2 separate regions of the Homo sapiens genome follow, and region 2 is linked to region 1. The links are contacts of gene promoters, found by promoter capture Hi-C in blood cells and fetal thymus (Javierre and others, 2016). All regions are on one chromosome and are shown on one strand. Each heading gives the region's core, a stretch centred on a gene start or on the middle of the fragment in contact. The rest is flanking DNA. Distances are from core to core; before and after follow the strand shown.

Evidence for each region. Contacts are between HindIII fragments. The CHiCAGO score rates a contact against its expected background, and 5 or more counts as called.
Region 2: a contact is called between a fragment that was not itself captured here and the fragment with the promoter of ITFG1 in region 1, in 1 of 17 cell types (neutrophils). The highest score is 7.8, in neutrophils.

The regions. Positions count from the first base shown.
Region 1 is chr16:47,459,700-47,462,426 of GRCh38, forward strand. It overlaps ITFG1 (integrin alpha FG-GAP repeat containing 1), which reads right to left and starts at 1,364. Exons shown (of 18, transcript NM_030790.5): 1 at 1,139-1,364. The coding sequence starts at 1,346. PHKB (phosphorylase kinase regulatory subunit beta) reads left to right here and starts at 1,632. Exons shown (of 31, transcript NM_000293.3): 1 at 1,632-1,727. The coding sequence starts at 1,652. RefSeq lists a silencer at 1,273-1,742. The HindIII fragment of the contact is 8,409 bases long and covers 1-2,727 here.
Region 2 is chr16:48,616,164-48,618,863 of GRCh38, forward strand. No RefSeq gene overlaps it. Among named protein-coding and RNA genes, the nearest start is that of N4BP1, 7.3 kb to the left of the region's middle. RefSeq lists a silencer at 1,535-1,829. The HindIII fragment of the contact is 5,376 bases long and covers 1-2,700 here.

The sequences.
Region 1 (2,727 bases), core at 114-2,613:
ACATTCTTGGAGCTCAATTAGCACTCATTGAGACAGACTTTTGGAATTGTTTAATCAAACACAGGCCATCTTTAAAGTCAAGGCTACTCTCTGTATCCAGTTTGGACACAGCAGCAACAGGTTTGGCAGTACACTGCAAAATGAGGAGTCAAAAAGATTGGGAAAATATTCAGGGTTTGTAAGAGGTTCCTGCATCCCCGCAAGGGCTCCAAGAAGTCTGGTTCAGGATCCTGTCAGGCAAGCTCTGAGTAGCTCTTCCTTCCTTCCTTCACAGCATTGATCTTTAAGCAGCACCTGCTTCTGTAGGTACTCAAGAACCCTAAGACCCCCTAATGCCCACTGTCAGCATCAAGATTTACAAAAAAGTTAGTTTAACGATTGTCAAAGCAAAGAATTTCCAAGAACAAGTTAGCAAAGAAAGTAGACATTTGGAACACTAAGGTGATGACCAAGATGAGGAAGGAGTACACGAAAGAACAGGCAGCTCAAGAGAGAAATTTCTGTAGTTTGAGACTGCTTTCCCAAGGAGGCATTGGGTTTATCAGTGGTCCCTGCAAAATGCTTGTGTGAGCTGTTTAGTGTTTAGGCCCTTGGAAGGGTACATTCGCTTCATAGAAAGTTGTGGCCTTGACAAAGAAAGGGGTGGGCGAATTAGGTAGGTGGGGAGGCAAGAAGAAGCCCCCTATGAGAAGAGATTGTCAGGTTGCACCTTTTCATGTTCATCAACGGGGAAGGAAGACTGAAGCAAAATAGAAAGGAATGAGTGGGCCTTGGGAGCGAACGTTGAGGCAAGCTACAAAGATTCCTAGGAATCAGGAAGCACTTTGGAAAACAGGTGATTCCATGGGGAGGAGGGGGTAAGGTGACTGGGTGAGGGCCGCAGACTTCTTAGGAACAAAACTGAGGTGCTGTCAGGGCTTTTGAGGGTAGGTCAAACTGTAGGGTAGCTGGGTCAGAACCTGGGGTTGGAAAGGGTGGTGCAAAAGGACAAGCTGTTAAGAATGCTAAAGGGAAGGCCACAGGGCTGGGAGAGAAGGACCAGGAAATGCAGAAGGACCGGCCATTGGGCAATGGGTTTGGGGAACACCGGGAGAGGCACACGGACAGCGAACAGAGGGAGGGCCCGGCAAGCACTGACTTTCCCGCAGCACGAAGAGATCCGTCTGCTTGTCGGAGTTGAGGTCCCCGAAAGCCGCAAGGGTGCCCCAGGCCTCGGCCCCAAAGAGCTCGGCCGTGACGTTGTGCAGCGCCCGCGCTGGGACCGGCCCGACTCCCAGTAGTGCAAGCCCTGCGAGGAGCGGCGAGAAGAGGGCCCAGGAGCTCGGGAGCCGGCCCGCCGCCGCCATGGCAGCCCCTCAGCCCCCGCCCGCCGGCCCAACGCCGCGCTTGACGACAGCCGCAAAGCACCGCGTTACCGGCCGAGAGAGTGGCGCGCAGCCCCGGGACGCGTAAGAGCCGCTGCCGGCTCCTTTTTCTCTCTCCCACTAGGGCTGCCCTTCCGACGCTAAAAAAGCAGTGGAGCTAGGGTGAAAGCCGCCCTCACGCTCACTTCCGGCAGGCGCGCCTCCCGACAGTGTCGTGCGGGGGGCGTGGCCCGGCATTGCTGACAGGCGGCCCCGGGGGCGGTGGCCAAGGCGGCGACCGGAGCGCGATGGCGGGGGCGGCGGGACTCACGGCAGAAGTGAGCTGGAAGGTCTTGGAGCGAAGAGCTCGGACCAAGCGCTCAGGTTTGGCTGGCTGGGGCGCCGCCCCCCACCCGAGTACCTTGGGTGGTGCTTCGCCTCAAGCGCCTTGGCGGGAGGCAGGTGGGGGCCCTGGGAATGAACCTGTGCCCCGAGTTCCTCCTTAGAAAGCAGGTGGCGGCCCTGGCCTTGTTTCTAATATCTTCCTCCACCTCTAAAAATTAGGTGGCAGAGCCAGCTCCACTCTGCGTGTGCCCCCGACTCTATTCCGCTTGTGAGCCCCACTCGGAAAGTAGGCAGCGGTCCGGACTTCCCTTAGAGTCTTCTAACTTAAAAATCGGGCGGCGGCACATTCCTGGGAAAGGGAATGTGTCTTCCCTGTGAATGTGTCTTTCCTGTGAATGTTCTCTGCAAAAGTCAGATAGCTTAATCAGACCAAGTCAGATGTAACTACGATCTGGCTGCAGAAAGCCGGCGTCTGGGCTCCTTGCTTTATGTCTTATATCCCTTTTACATTCCCCACAGGTTCTAAGCAGTAGACCTGTCATCTATCTAGCAGAAACTGAAGGAGACTGGGCCTCAGATATTGAAGAGTATAGTTAGGGCCCAGAAAGAAAAGGGCTTCTTAAGTGGCCCCAGGTTGTGTGGTTTCCAAACCCGAAAGCATAGAGGTCAGAAGGTGCCTTGCAGGCAGTTTTAACAGTTCCAAGTGTCCCGAACTGACTTGTTCAAATTGCAACGTCATGACTTGTGGCGTTATTAAAACTTCCTGTATTCCTGGTTGGCTGGATATAATCTTGAACAAAAGGCATGCACTTAAACAGGAAAGGTGAAAGGCGGAATGCAGGTTTTCAGCTAAGGAGCTTCCCTTTTAAAGAATTGATGAAGTGTCATTATTGGGGGTGGGTGTGAAAGGTGTTAGCTAGGAAAATTAACTTTGCACTTGCATTGATATTAAGAAATTATTTTCGGACGGGCGCGGTGGCTCACGCCTGTAATCCCAGCACTTTGGGAGGCCGAGGCGGGCGGATCACCTGAGGTCAGG
Region 2 (2,700 bases), core at 155-2,654, 1.2 Mb after region 1:
GTCTCTCTGATGAGCCAAGTCTCCTGCTGTAGGCTCTTGGCACTGTGGTCCTGTCACTTGTGGCACCAGGGCCAGTTTTTTGTGTGCTTGAGTGATGGGATTGACTCAGGTCCACCTCCACCATCAGACTGTCAACTCTATGGGGGCAGTGATCTGAGGCCGAACTGAGCTCGACATATTCCAGGAACAGGGGACAGGGCAGGATGCAGCCCTCCAGAAACACCCAGAGACAGGATAAGGCCAGACCCTCCAGAATGCATGTGGTGGGCCTGTTACAGATTTTGTATTTTATTTTAGTATAATGAGGAAAAAAAGTCTTCCCGGGTTTTGTTTTGTTTTGAGACAGGGACTTGCTCTGTTGCCCAGGCTGGAGTGCAGTGATGCCATCGTAGCTCATTGCAGCCTCAAACTCCTGGGCTCAAGTGATCCTCCTGCCTCAGCCTCTCAGTCTGAATACCTAGGACTACAGACGAGCATCACCACACCTGACTAATTTTTAAATTTTTTGTAGAAACGGGGTCCCACTATGTTGCCCAGGCTGGTCTGGACTCCTAGCCTCAAGCAACCCTTCTGCTTTGGCCTCCCACAGTTCTGGGATTGTAGGAGTGAGCTGCTGCCCCTGGTGTTCCCAGGTTAAGCAGTGAATGCATCATCTAATTTATGCTGTAAGATCTGTCTCCCTTCTCTGGGGAAAAAGCGTGGAGGAGGCCAGAGTAGACTGGGAAGAACATAGGTATATATGTGTTTATATAGAATATCTTCCATACCACAGCAATTCCATCCAATCCCCTTTCTCAAACATGAAGGGGGGTGGATCACGAGGTCAGGAGATCAAGATCATCCTGGCTAACACGGTGAAACCCCATCTTTACTGAAAATACAAAAACAAAATTAGCCGGGCGTGGTGGCGGGCGCCTATAGTCCCAGCTACCAGGGAGGCTGAGGCAGGAGAATGGCGTGAACCCAAGAGGCGGAGCTTGCAGTGAGCCAAGATCGCACCAGTGCACTCCAGCCTAGGTGACAGAGCGAGACTCCGTCTCAGAAAAAAAAAAAAAAAACCACGAAGGGGCTGGGCTTCTCTCGGCATGGTAGCCAGGTTCCAAGTAAGAAAGTAAGACTATTTCACCAGCAAGTGTTCTTGCTGGAAGTAGAAGGAAGCCTCCACTTCCTTTTTCATGGAACACTTGCTGGTGAAATAGTCTTACTTGGAACCTGGCTACCATGCCAAGAGGAAACCCAGCCCCTTCATGTTTGAGAAAGGGGATTGGATGGAATATATATATATATAATATATATATATATATTTTTTCTTTTTTCTTCCCAGTGGCAGTATTGGTCTAGGTGCCAGAGGATGGGGGCTTGGACCAGGGAAGTTGCAGTGGGGAGGGAGTGGAGGAATCTGAGAGCTATTTTGGAGGAAGAATCTCTGCATTCAAGCGTGGAGGGCGTGCTTCTCCTTAGCTGCAGGAAAACCTCAATGCGTCTGCTGCTTCTAGTCTCTTATTCTCTCCCTTTATATATTTCCTTTGCATTTTTATTATCCATGTATTGAAACTCCTCTGACATTGATTCAAACTGCTACAACTGCCACAATACCGAGAGGAGCTATTTATAACACGCAGTCCTTAGGTGGGAATGCAGCTCTCTGCCAAGTGCTACTACAGAGATTGTCGGCAGTCTGCCAGCTCCCAAATGTTTCTAATTCAAAGCATTTTCCCATCACCCTCTACAGCTAGGATTTCTCAACAGGGGCACAATTGACATTTTGGGTGAGATAATTCTTTGTTGTAGGGACCTGTCTTGTGAATTGTAGGATGTTTAGCAGAATCCCTATCCTCTACTCACTAGATGCCAATAACAACCACTCCCCTACACCCGGTGTGACAAGAAAACCTCACCAGACATTGTCTAATGTCAAAACTGTCCCCAGTTGAAAATGATTGTTCTACAGAGATAATTCAGAGAAAGCCCTGCCCCTAGGGCTGAGCTAATAATTCAGCATTCAGCCAGGTGCAGTGGCTCATGCCTGTAATCCTAGCACTTTGGGAAGCTGAGGTGGGTGGACTGCTTGAGCCCAGAAGTTCAAGACCAGCATGGGGCACATAGCAAGACCCTCCCCCGCCCATCTCTGCAAAAGATCATAAAAAATTAGGCTGGGGACAGTGGCTCATGGCTGTAATCCCAGCACTTCGGGAGGCTGAGGCGGGCGGATCACCTGAGGTCAGGAGTTCGAGACCAACCCAGCCAACATGGTGAAACCCTGTCTTTTTTTTTTTTTCTTTTTTTTTGAGACAGTGTCTCTCTCTGTCACCCAGGTTGGAGTGCAGTGGCCCAATCTCGGCTCACTGCAAGCTCCGCCTCCCAGGTTCACGCCATTCTCCTGCCTCAGCCTCCTGAGTAGCTGGGACTACAGGCGCCCGCCACCACACCCAGCTAATTTTTTGTATTTTTAGTAGAGACAAGGTTTCACCCTGTTAGCCAGGATGGTCTCGATTTCCTGACCTCATGATCTGCCCGCCTCGGCCTCCCAAAGTGCTGGGATTACAGGCGTGAGCCACCGAGCCCGGCCTAAACCCTGTCTTTACTAAAAATACAAAAATTAGCCAAGTGCAGTGGTGTGCACCTGTAATCCCAGCTACTCAGAAGGCTGAGGCAGGAGAATAACTTGAACCTAGGAGGTGGAGGCAGCAGTGAGCCAAG